2 separate regions of the Homo sapiens genome follow, and region 2 is linked to region 1. The links are contacts of gene promoters, found by promoter capture Hi-C in human tissues and cell types (Jung and others, 2019). All regions are on one chromosome and are shown on one strand. Each heading gives the region's core, a stretch centred on a gene start or on the middle of the fragment in contact. The rest is flanking DNA. Distances are from core to core; before and after follow the strand shown.

Region 1 (6,501 bases), core at 1,843-4,342:
CACTCGAAGTGCCCAGAAGAACTGAGTGGGCTGAGGCCTAAGGCACCAGAGAGAGGGAAGGAGGGTGCCCCAGGCACCCCGGCTGCATGCCTGGGGGAACCCAGCCGTTCTTTCCACAAGGAGGAGGCAAGAGGCAGTGCCCACTTGGGGTAGGGGGTGGTTGGTTGGGTCTAGGGAGTGGCGGGACACCCAGGCAGCCAGTCTAAGGCTGAGGAGACTACAGAGCAAAGACTCCACCAGGCCTGGGGTGGGGGTGAAAACGGTGAGCCATCACTGGAGAGGGCGAAGGGGATGAACTGAGGAACAGGCAGGACCAAGGGTGGGCTTTCTGAGAACCAAACAGCTGAGACCTTAAAAAGCAACAGCAACGAGCCCAACAGCACTGGACTGAGCGTCCAGGGGCCTGGGACCCAGCTGTGGAGCCTTGGATGAGGCATCCAGCCTCTCTGAGCCTCAGTTTCTGTTGGGTCATGAATGCCTCCTTATAAGGCTGTCTGTAAGGAGCGATCAGATGCTTGCAGGGCTGTAGTAGAGATCAAATGAAGTAATTGTTCTGAGAGGCATCTGGAATGCTGCAGAACCCCATACACACATAAGGGATTAGTACTATGCAGAAGCACCAAGAGATGCATCCTTCCCACACACGCTTGGCGCTGCCCACCCTCGCCAGCCACACAAAGGCCAGCTTCCGCCTCGCTGCTTCTCTTGCCTTCTGAGCAGTCTCTCCCCCAACCCAGGGCCGGTCCCCCTGTCCTCCCTTCCATCTCTGGATGGCTGAGAACCACCTCAGAAGCAGCTGAGCTCCTCTCTCCTGGATGCCCTGACTCCCTGCAGCTGGGACTTTCTCCTAGAGTCTCTGCCTCTCTCCCGGTACTAAAGTTCCCTCTCCATCCTAAGGGAAAACCAAAGTGGAAATCAGACCACGAAGCCGACCCAGGCTCTCGGAAGAATTTTCATTGCTGGGGAAGACAGCAGCCACCGATCAAGATGCCCAGGTAGGGGGATGGGAAAAACACAGAAAACCAAGATCCCCTCTCAACCTCCCCTCCCGAGCATCCACCTCTTCCCCACCCGGAGGGACCAGTGCTGCCTCTGGGTTTCAGGTGGCAGGTCCAGAGGAGGACAGAGGGGTGGAGCTGGTGAGGCAGGCGGGAGGCTGGTGGGCAAGCCCGGGCCACAAGGAATGAACAAAATATGGAAAATTAAACAAACCCAGACACTGTAATGTGTGCATATTAGATTAACTCTCCGAAGGGTCGTGACCTTGAGGAACACATCTGGCCAGTGAGAAAAATAATAAACCTGATTAATGATGAAGCCTGAGCTGCAGCTTCAGCAAATAAAGCCAGCATGATGACGCCCAGTGGAATTCCAGGGGCTGCCATCCCTGGTGGGACCGGAACACAGTGGACCTCGACAAGCCCCTCGCCCCTGACCACGCGAGCACAGACAGTCAGGGAGTCAGGCAGGACCGGATTTGTCTCTCAGATGCCCACTACCAACCCAGGCGGCCTCTCTCCCCGGAGATACCACGCCCGCAGTTTCCCGGTGCTCCTAGAAGTGTCACTACCAACCAGGTGACCCATAGGGAGTGAAAGTGAAGGTAGTTCTTTGTTCCTGGCAGGGCTCAGTCCTCCTGACCAGCCCTCAGACCTCTTGGCCTGGTCTTGACAGCTGCCCACTGCCTGGCAAAAGGGCCCAGCTGTGCTCAGAGCTCCCCTCCTCTTCCCAGACAACCCAGACCCTTGGGAGACATGCCCAGGAGAGCCACTGGAGGGAGGCAGGGAGGTGGCACCGCGTGGCATCACCAGACAACAGCACCAAGAGGAAGATGGCAGCATCAAGTACAGATGCCAAGAGCCACGCAGCCCAAGGTCCAGCCCGGGAGTGGCTCGGCCCGCATTGCCCCACCACTGCCAGGCAGACGGGCCAGAGGCGCCCGGGGCCCAGCCCCCTCGGCCGCCTCCTCCACCACCCCAAGGCCCTCAGCCAACTCTCCCCAGGCTCCAACTCCTCCCCTCACTTTGCTCAGCTCAAGGGAGCCAGGGAAAGAGACACAGGTGCTCTCAGTGCCTTGAACCCCCTGTCCCAGCTGTCGCCTGCACGCCCTCCACCCCAGCCAGGTCGGAGCGCACAGCTCTGCCAGTCCTCACTGAAGAGAATCTAAATCAGCTCCCCTCCCCCTCCGCCCCAGCCCCCTCCCCCATCACGCGCCCATTGCAGGTCTCTAGAGTTTCTCCCTCACTTCCCACTCGGATGAACTAGGGTGGGATGGGTGGGAGCCCCATTCTCCCCGGGAAAGAGGATCATTTCTGATAGGACGCTGGTTCCCCCAAGCAAGGCGGTGTGCAGGGTGGGGGGGTGTGGTGGTGGCCCGAGTCCAGTGCAGGGGCAGGGGGCAGTCGAGGCAGATGGCAGTGAGGAAAGGGGGAGGGGGCTTGGTGGGATGCCAGGCTGAGCCGGGATGGGGGGCTGCAGCCGGGGAACAGAGGCGCTGGGAGAAGCGGAGGGTGACGAGGTGTAGGGGAGACGCGCCAGGCTGGGAAGGGGCTGTCATCCCTGCAGGGGACAGAGGCAGGGCTGGGAGTTGCACGGGGAGGGGGAGGACCAGAGCGGGAGGACCGCGAGCCCGGGGAAGGGATGCGGAGGGAGGGAGACGGACCGGGGTGAAGACTGGAGGAACTACGGGAGCAGAGCGGTGGGGGGTTCGGCGGCGAATCTGGAGACGCAGGGACCGAAGTGCCAGGGACCGGGCTGGCGGGAGGCGGGAGCGGGGAGGAGGGCGCGGGGGCGGGGGCCGGGGCAGGGGTGCGGGGCCGCGGCCCCCGAGGGCAGGAGCGGCGGAGACGTCAGAAGTCGGGGTGCGGGAAGGGCCAGCGCGGAGGGGACTCGGGGGCGCGGGGGCAGCGCAGGGAGCGGGCCGGGGGCGCCGCGGGGGGCCGCTGCCCTTACCTGGTCGGCTCCGCACTCCGGGGGCTGAGCCGGGGGCCGGGCGCTGCCGGGCCGGCCGCGGGGCTGCTGTTGGCCGTTTTTCCTCTTCCGCAGCAGCCGTGGCGGCTCCAGCCCGATCCGCCCGCAGCTGAAGGCAGTCTGTGTCCGGCTGCGAGCGAGCCCGGCGCGGGGAGCGCGGGAGGAGCGCAGCGAGGCGCGGGGCGCCGCCCGGCGGGCAGCTGGGGAACTGCTGCGGCCCCGCGCACGGCCGGCCGGGGGGGCGCCCCTTCGGGGCCGGGCCGGAGCCCCGCGGGCAGCTGCACGCGCCCCCCAGCGCCCCTCGGAGCGTCGCCCGGGAGCCCAGGCGCGGGGGCGGCGGGGGCGGCGGGAACGGCGGGGGCTGCTGCGGGCAGGGCGGGCGCGGGTCCGCGCGGCCGGGGGCAAACTTGCGGCTGCCCGGGGGCCCGGGGCCGAGCGAGAGGCGCCCGGCTGGGGAGCGGCGCCCGGCAGAGGCTAGGGGCGCGCGGCCAAGCGGGCTCTGCGAGGTACGGACCTCAGGTGGGGAACCCGGCGCAGCCCGCACACTCCACCGCCCTGCGCAAAGGGGCAGCCCGCCCCGGCCCCGAGGAGTTATTAGCCCGGCGGCTTCAGCGAGCAAGGGGCGCCCCCTGGTGGCATTCGGGAAACAGCGCGGGGGACGAGCGTGCCCCGTTAGAAGAGACTGCGGCCTCAGTGGTGCGGAAGATGGAGAGGTGGAGGTTTCATGGGACGAGACAAGAGCACCTTGTTCAGGAGACTGAAGAGCAACAGCTTGCATGGAGTCATTCCAGAGCACTGTTGTATACATACCAACATCTTGGGAGGATCTCATGTTACGCATGAAGATCCTGAGGCTAGGAGAGGTGAAGGGACCAGGCCAAGAACACACGGGGAGCAAGTGGCAGGACCCAGGAGGCAACCCCGCTTTCTGACGCGCGGTTCATTTCAGTACACCGTGTGGTTCATCCTAATACAACAGAGTTGCCCTTAGGAGGAGGCTGGGTGAAGAGGGAGTCCTGGGGGAATAGGAGGGAGGGCAAGGGACACGTGACCCCCTCAAACCTATTAGCTCCCTCTTATCCAACCCGCAGAGTCTCTGTCTTGGGCAGACCACCAAACTGATCACACCGGCCCTCTCACCTTCAATGGCCTGTATCCCCACACCCAACCACCAGCACTCCCACAATCTCATTAAGCTCTCTGTGAAGGGTTTGTTCACAGACGTCCTTGGTCAGGTCTCACGCATGAGGCATACTATCGGGACTATAGACTGTTCTGGACGTTGCATTCCCCGGGGAGGGCTGGCTGGCTAGCCTGGGCGCGTACTGGGCCTCCTGCTTCAGGAGTCGTGCCTATCCCTCCCCCAGCTCCACACACTGGCTGGATGAATGCCATATGCGAACAGGGCTCCATTCCTCCAGCCAGACATTATTTAGCACCTACTGTTTGCCAAGACTATACCGCTTACACAAGTGTGATTCCCAATAATCAACTTTGCAAGGTAGGTGTTGAGGTGACACTAGTCCCATTTTACAGAGGATGTTAAACCTGTTAAGGTTTAAGAGCACCTGTAAGCCAGTGACACAAAACTAATTTCTAATTCCAACTCTATTCCCCCACTCTGGAACCCCCTCTCTTGTGCAAAATGGACGGAACAGCAGCATAAGCCTAGCAGAAAGTGTACGGGGCTGGGAGGAGGGAGAGGCATCCCTGTGATCCCAGCAAGCGATTTCACTTCCCTGGACTTCAGTTCCCATAACTCTAAAAGTGAGGGAAGCAGACTAGATGATCTCTCAAGCCGCGCAAACTCTGAAATGCCAAGCATGGATCCCTGGCCCCTTTCACGGGAAGAATGCAAGATCAGCGAGACCAGAGAGGCTTATTAAGTGTTTGGAAAGAAAAATACTATATAAGTGAAATGCTTCATCATATTCTTTTGCCTGGTGATCTCATCCTATTAACCAGGGAAGCGGGGAGGAGCTTTTGGCAGGTCAGAGAGATTGCTGATGGCTCTGGAGATAGTCTTGGCTGTGGCCTCCTGAGGGCCCTGGTTTCTCCCCTTCTTGCAAGAATGGTTCTGACTTTCTTTTCCTTTCTTAAGGCCTCTGCCCCTAGAAGCAGGGAGTCCCTACCAGTCACAGGGTGGACAACAATGTCAGCGAAGTCTGCCGGTACAGAAGTCTGCTGTTAGCCTCAGCCTGGTTGCCCCCACCCACTCTCCTGTCTCCCCTTGCTGCAAGATGTTGAGTTCTTTGGGATACTTACTACTTGCTCTCCACCTTTTTTACTACTGAAAAAATTCAATTCCAGGCAAGCTGACTTCTCAAGCTCAGCTCCAGGGGTGGGAAGGTCAGTCCAGATCTTTTTTGGAAGCCACAGGGGGAGAATGTCAGAGGGCCACGAGGCTGGCCCCGCTGATCTACTCTGAGGCTGCTGCCTTGAATGAAAAAACAGAAGGGTTGGGAAATGGGGCTCCCACCTCTAGAACCTCTCATCTGAAACATCCCTCACAGCCAGCTGCTATGCTGTGCAGGACGGATAGGATTCATTGTGCTTGGGCGCCATGGTGGTCGGAGCGCACAGGAAGGAGTTTGTTCTCTTGGATTTATCTTTAATTTCTTCCATCTATCTGCCTCTGGTATATCCACTAAGAAGAATATTTGATCTTAAATGTACCTGCCATGTCTTTTCCGAAGGTCCCTTTGAAGGTTCATCACACATTCATAATGATCCCTCTGCATAAATGGGGCCAGCTGAGGCACACGGTGAGCAGGTGACTTGTTGTCACCTTGCTGAGTGGCACATATCATATCATGTCACCATGTCTTAGAAACTATTGCAGCGGCCCTCTAGCTCATCTCCCTGCCTTTAAATTGGCTCCCTCCAATATGTCTACAAATGGCTGCCAGAGTGATGTCTCTAAAACAAGCTTCACCACTTTACACCCTTGCTGAAAACCCCTTCATGACCTCATATTGAGTCCAAAACTTTTTTTTTTTTAAGACGGAGTCACTCCTCTGTCACCAGGCTGGAGTGGAGTACAGTGGCGGAATCTCGGCTCACTGCAACCTCTGCCTCCCGGGTTCAAGCGATTCTCCTGCCTCAGCCTCCTGAGTATCTGGGACTACAGGCACCCGCCACCACGCCCGGCTAACCTTTGTATTTTTAGTAGAGATGGGGTTTCACCATGTTGGCCAGGCTGGTCTCCAACTCTTGACCTCGTGATCTGCCCGCCTCGGCCTCCCAAAGTGCTGGGATTACAGGCGTGCACCACCGCACCCAGCCTCGAGTCCAAAACTTCTTAGCACAGCATACAAGTTCCCTGCTTACTTCCCCACCTCACCCATCATCCATTTCTGTCCATCTCACCTTCAGTCAGTACCAAGCAGCACTGAGTTCTCTGCTCATCCCATTTCATACCTCTGTGCCTTTAACACACTGAATTCTGCCCAGAGTCCCCACCCTACCTCCCACATACACACTGATACACAAGTTCCTATTAACCGCTCAGAATTCTGTTTGGGAACCTCT
Region 2 (6,501 bases), core at 1,413-3,912, 610 kb before region 1:
CAAACCCTTAAGGGTCTGACAGTGGAGAAGAAAGTGCCAGGAACAATTGCTACAGGTTCCATGTGGAAGGTGACCTATTTTCCCAAGGGCTAGTTTTGATGACCCAGGCCCACAGCTGCATTAACTCAACAGCCACAAAAGTAGCCACCTCCACCTCTGGACAACCCACCTCCTCACTCAACTCTGGAGCTGCCGTCCCCTGCTGTGGGACTTCCTGCCATGCCTTTCATGTTTCCAGACCATGTATGTTCATCAATGGGTTCTTGTTTCCTGGTTGTGGTATTAGGTGGGGGCAAAAGTAAAGATCCTTTCACAATTCGTTCTTTGTAATTTGTGCAATTTCAACCTCCCCCTCATTCTTGGGTCACAAGTCTTAACAAGGACATTTGGAGGAGCCCCCAAAGCCTATCCCTGCCCCCTGCACAAGAGAGACCTGTCATGGGGATGGGATGCCAGCTTACCACACCCAGTCTGGGTTCGCCAGTCTCCAATTGGAATGCCAAGGGCTTGGCACACAAGAGCATAGGCCTGGATGGCTTGGCAGAGGAGCGTGCCATTGTCCCTCACACTGCACAGGTCATACACGCAGCTGTGCACAAAAGCAGTGGGGTCCACGACAGTGCCACACTCCCACAGAGGGCCGTCTGTCTTGTTGAGGAAGCCGCAGTAGTCAGAGCCAAAGTAGAGGGCTTCAGTGGCAGCGTCGCACTGGGTGCAGTTGTCGACGCAGCCGGAGTCGCACTTCCAGTCTGCGTGGTACACACGCCAGCTCTCTCCCAGATCCAGGACAGACATGGCCGGCCTGCCATCCGGGCGGAGGAAGTCATCCAGTGGGTTTTTATTATAGTTTCCACAGAGTCCACAGGTGGAGTTTATATAGGAGCCTGGGACGGAAATGGAGGCGTAGTGCTGGCCATCAAAAGTCACTAAGAGCCCAAAATCTGTTTCCACGGCAGTAGATATGCCACTCTGGTAGATTTTCACTGTCCCCAAGTCTAAGGTGACAGGCAAAGAAGTCACTAGGTCATTAACCTGCCAACAACAGTAATAGTGAAAGGCAGGTGAGCAGGTGCCCAGGCACTGGGTTCCAGCAGAGATCAGGAAAGGAAGGCAAAGCAACTCAACACTCCAGAGAGAATGGCCACCTAAACGGTCCAGGCTCCAGTGGGCTTCCCTCTGATTAAGGCAAAGGCCGGGGGGGAAATGGAGAGAGCTGCTTGTGGGCCAGCCCACGCACTGTGTATATGGGCTGTGATTGCTGTGGCATACAGAGTGCCACTACGGACTCCTCTGGGGACTGTGTGGTTGTCAACATTTCCTGGCTGGCTCTTGGCTAGCTTCATATCTTTTCTTCAAAGACCAGTCACCTCCCTTTTCCTCTGCATTCCTCTAAATATCCATTCTTTAAGTCTCAGCTTAAGTCATGCATTTTCCAGGACCCCCTTCCTGCCTTTAGTCCTCCTCACCCCACTCTCAGCTCGAGTGTGTGCTGGGTCCACTGCTGGACACCATTTAGCTTTGAGGCTGTCCTGATGTAGTATTCTCCAAGTGTTGTACTCTGTAACTTCCTTGTATCAGAACTACGTCATGTAACCATTCAACAACAACACAATTAAACACCTGCTAGGTACCAAGCACTATGTCAGGAACTGAGATGTAAAGGGTTAAAAAACATAATTGCCCCTGCCCCTCAAGGAGCCCTCAGTCTGCTGAAGAAGAGGGACATGCATCGATACTTACAGCATACTCTTTAACTGTGAGTCAATAGAGGATAAAATGGGAGAGCAGTAAATGAACATTGAATCCAGCATAGGGGAATCACATAAGTTTTTTAGAAGCAGTTAAGTCTAACCTGGGTCTTTAAAGATAAACAGAAGTGGCCAAAGGAAGAGTGGGGGAAGGGCAGAGAAATCCAGGACAAGAGAGCAGAGGCAGGAGGGTGAGGAACAGCTGGGTGGGGTTGGGGGGCAGACACTGAGGTGTTACTGGACTACAGAGGGAAGAGATGGCTGAAGATGAGGCTGGAGGTACAGGCAAGGTCCATTCATTCTACAAATACGCATTTATGCCTTTCTATGTACTTGGCACTGTTCTAAGAGTTGGGGATTAGCAGCAAGTGAAATGAACAGAAATCTCTGCCTCGTGGAACTTACATTTTAGCTGGGGAGACCAACAACAAGCAAAATAAATGAGTAAAACTCATGTCAGATGAGTGTTAATGCAGAAAAATAAAGAGCAGGAAATACTTTTCTAAAAAGTGCTAAGGAAAAGTGTTTCTAATTTTAAATAGGATGGTCAGGGAAGACTTCCTTGGGAAGGAGACATCTGAGATAAGGAAGAAATCCATGTGGTTATCTAGGGTGAGAGTGGCTCTTGAGGAGGGAACAGCAGCCCTAGGTTGGGAACATACCTGGGCACTCCCAGGATTACAAGGGGTGTAGGGGACGTGGCTGGAGAGAGACAGCAGGAGAGGGCAGCAATAGATGACGTCAGAGTGAGAAGAGCAGCCAGAACAAGCAGGGCCCGTCAGCCATTGTAAAGACTTTGGCTTTGACTCTGAGCAAGATGGAGAGCCCAGGGAGTGTTTAAAACAAAAAGTCCGCACGATCTGACTTCTGCTTTAAAAGAATTGCTCTGGCTTTTGTGTTGAGAACAGGTCTTGGAGGGCCTTTTAAGCCATGTTAAAAACAAAACAAAAGTTGGATTTCTATTCTGCAGGGAGAGCCCTTGAAGGCTTTTAAGCAAGGGAATGACATCACCAGATTTGTGTTTTAGAAAGCTCCTTCTGGCTAGCGTGAAGAAATTATTGAAGGAAGTTGAGATTAGAAACAGAGAAGCCAGACAGGCAACTGCTGCAGGAGTCCAGGGAGGTGATGAGGATGAAAGCCTAAACTAGCTGCAGACATGAGAGGGAGGGATGAGCTTATAGAACACACACAGCTGGACGTGGTGGTTTTGCAATGGGGCATGAGAAATGAGGGAATAATCAAGAGTGAGCCCCAGGCATCTAGTACGGGTGAGTAAGTGGCTTGATAAGCCTCAAAGAGAGAGAATTAATTTTCTTTTTCACACTTACTATGCCTAGCACCTATGGACATCCATGCTCATGGGCTGGAATGGAATGACTTGTCTTAGAACAGTCCTCGGTGGGCTTGACTATAAGTGCACATAAACTTTCCAGGGTGTCCTGGACCCACACTGATTTCTGGCACATGAGACTGTCTGGCACTCTTACCTGTCATCATTGTTGCTACTTTCTGAGTTGTCTAGGCGATGAGATGATGGTCTGAGCATCCCTTCCAAAATTTACCGTGGCAGGCGCCACATGCAGCTCTCTGTCTCTATAGATTAGTAGTTGGTCCTCACCAGAATCACCCTTAATGGTCCATTCACTACAATGTAGGCTTTTGCTAGAATGTACTTCAAAACTCTTCCAGCCTCTACCAATTACCCAAAGCTGCTACCATTTTTTTTTTTTTTTGAAACAGGGTCTTGCTCTGTCTCCCAGGCTGGAGTGCAGTGGCACAAACGTGGCTCACTGCAGCCTCAACCTCTCTGGCTCCAGTGATCCTCCCATCTCAGCCTCCTGAGTAGCTGGGACTACAGGTGCATGCCACAACACCTGGCTATTTTGGCTTTCTTTTTTTTTTTTTTTTTTTTTGGAGAGACAGGCTTTTGCCATGCTGCCCAGGGTGGTCTTGAACTCCTGAGCTCAAGCAATCTGCCCTCCTTGGCCTCCAAAAGTGCTGGGATTATAGGTGTGAGACGCCGTGCCCAGACTGCTACCACATTTTTAGGTATTTATTACAGCAGCACCCCACTCCTGGTACCAATCTTCTGTTTTAGTCTGTTTGGGCTGCTAGAGCAAAATACCATAAACTGGGTAGCTTATAAACAACTGAAATTTATTTCTCACAGTTCTGGAGGCTGGGAAGTATAAGGTCAGGGGGCTAGCAGATTCATTGTCTGGCGAGAGCCCACTTTCTGGTTCATAAATGGCACCTTCCAGCTGTGTTCACATATGGTGAAAGAAGAAATGAGCTCCCTCTGGCCTCCTTTCTAAGGGCACTAATCCCATTCATAAGGGCTCCACCCTCATGACATAATCACCTCCTCAAGGTCCCACCTCCTTATACCATCACCTTAGGAGTTAGAATTTCAACATATGAATTTTGAGGGGACACAAATATTTAGATCATAGCAATGGGGGAAGGGAATAAGAAAATAAGCTTGAGAAATAAACCATCCTGCAGAGAGCTAGAAGTAGAAAGAAAAACCAAGGAGTTGATTAATTTATTCTTGTCTCCTAGGTAGAGGGTTAGCCAACTCTTACTAGGTGACCTTGCCTATAATATGGCTTTTCCTACCCTAAGAAAAAAGGGAGAGAAGAGCCATATTATAGGGAAGGTCAGCTAGTAAGAGTGCTGAACACTTATCCATTGTTCTGTGCTGGTAAGTGGAAGGGGAAATCTTCCCCAATGTTGGTATAATTATGAATGTCAAATACGTCAACTGCTGAATGGGCTCCTCTGCTCTTACTTAAGCTCCTGCTAGCAAGGGACAAAGTCTTATTGTGTCCCAAAGCAGAAGCCATGGGGTAGGCTGGTTCTGGATATTTCTACAGTCCCCCCACCATCACAACCCTCAGGACGCCAGTTTCCCTGCCTCTGTTCTTGTCGCACTCAGGCTGACCTGACACCTGGGTGACTGTGGGTGTCAGTAATGTTCCAGTTGATACCTTTTTTTTTCTGGCATAAGTGATCATTGCACCCCCTTTCACTCTCCCTATAGAGTCATTGTGCTTGTGTCCCACAGTGCTTAGAGCAGGAGATCCCAGAGAACTCTTGTCCCCAAATGTAATTCCTTGCTTCATTCCTCTGACCCTGTCCTCAACCTATGGTTAGCAGACAGCTGATAAGCCTCGCCTGTTTGCTTGCTTTTCTTCTGCCTGCATTCTGGCCATTTCACTCTTCCACAGTACCTCTCCCAGGATGTGGGTAGGGGCAGGGGGAGGAGGAGAGAAGTGGAGTCACGGAGGCACAGGTCTTGGAACTGAAAGAAAGTTCCATGGGAATGGTCACAGGGAGCCAGCATGCACCGAGCACCTACTGTGTGCCAGGCTTTGTACTGGACATTGCCCTGTGGCTGTTCTATTTAATTCTCATAACAGCCTTAGGAGGTCCTTATCATTTTCTCCTTTTATAGATGAGGAAATTGAGGATGGGGGCTGGTGTGACTTGCAAGTGACAGAGCCTGACCCCTCCTAGTCGAGCTCCAAAGCCAGGTTCTCTCCACTTCTCCCTGCTGCCTGTATCCCAGTGCTGAGGAGAGGCCGCCAAGGCCAGCTACAGCCCAGGAGCTCTGCCTCCTAGAGGGCCCTGTCTCACAAAGAAAACGAAGCTCAAACAGGCCACTCAGCTGGCAGTGGTGGCATAGGAATTTGAACAGGTCCAGCCCTAGAGTCCAAGCTGCTCATCGCCATGGGCTAGTTGGCCTTGGCTCCCTGTTCACTGGAGCACCCTAAACTACTCGTGTTCACGCGGGGAAGAAAGATGAGAACTGGTATTAGCTAGAAGGAGGCGCTTTTTCTAGATGGATTTTTACTTATGCTGCCTTTTTTTGGTCCTACTGGTATATCTAATCCTAAACTGTTTATTTTGTTATTTGAGAACAGTTCAGTGGGGAAAATCCATGTACAGAACCCAGCTCCTAATCCCAGCATATGGAGACAGTGCTGGAGAAGGGGGGTCTGTGTTTTGGAAGAACAGATCTTAGTGGCCATTTCTGGTCTGGCACAGCATGGCTGAAGAAGTCAGCTGCCTCCCAGCATCTCAGGCTCCTTCCTGCTTCCCAGCCCTCTCCCTGCCTGTCCCCACATCACCCTGGGTCGGGGCTCTGCCATCCATCGAGCCAGTCTCCCCAGCAGGGCAGGTGTATTCAGAGACGCTTGGAAACCATTTGGCAAAAGGAAAAGGAAGCCATTGTTAGCTTGCAGTTGGAGTCACATAACCTTTTCTTTCTGAAACATTTACATTCACCCACATCGCCCTGTCGCTACAGAAAATTGAGGAATCCATGCCCTATGCTTGGACGATGGAACAGAGTCACGCAAAATTAGCAGAGCTGCTGGGCCTGAAAGAAATTACGGTGTCCCTTTCCTTCTAAAAAAAAAATCTGACTGAGAATAAAAAAGAATTTTAATCAAAATACAAAATAGGAATAAAGCATGAAGCCTTCTTTTTCAACTACTGATATACACATCATCCCCAAATACAGGAAAGTAGGGGGAAGCTAGTGAAAATTTTTTCTAGCTTGAAATGCCAGCATCTATCTACAAGGATAAGTATAGTGCTCAACAGCACAATATAAATTTAAAAGGGAAAATCTCCAAATTTCTATATCTAAACTCTTAGCCTTGATTTGATATACAGAGTTGTCCCTACAGAGACTAACCAAATAGCAAGCACACTGGCATTTCAACCACAGTAATAGCTCACTTTC

The links. The method cuts DNA at HindIII sites, captures the fragments that hold promoters and counts their contacts. A contact is called where the count stands out against the background at its distance.
Region 2: a fragment that was not itself captured here is called in contact with the fragment with the promoter of GRIK4 in region 1 in 2 of the 25 tissues and cell types used here (dorsolateral prefrontal cortex and lymphoblastoid cells).

What each region holds. Positions count from the first base shown.
Region 1 is chr11:120,508,339-120,514,839 of GRCh38, reverse strand. It overlaps GRIK4 (glutamate ionotropic receptor kainate type subunit 4), which reads right to left and starts at 3,092. Exons shown (of 21, transcript NM_014619.5): 1 at 2,953-3,092. RefSeq lists silencers at 3,022-3,221, 3,402-3,481. The HindIII fragment of the contact is 7,551 bases long and covers 1-6,501 here.
Region 2 is chr11:121,119,833-121,126,333 of GRCh38, reverse strand. TBCEL-TECTA (TBCEL-TECTA readthrough) reads right to left here. Exons shown (of 30, transcript NM_001378761.1): 14 at 462-1,032. It overlaps TECTA (tectorin alpha), which reads right to left. Exons shown (of 24, transcript NM_005422.4): 8 at 462-1,032. Among named protein-coding and RNA genes, the nearest start is that of TECTA, 22 kb to the right of the region's middle. The HindIII fragment of the contact is 9,664 bases long and covers 1-6,501 here.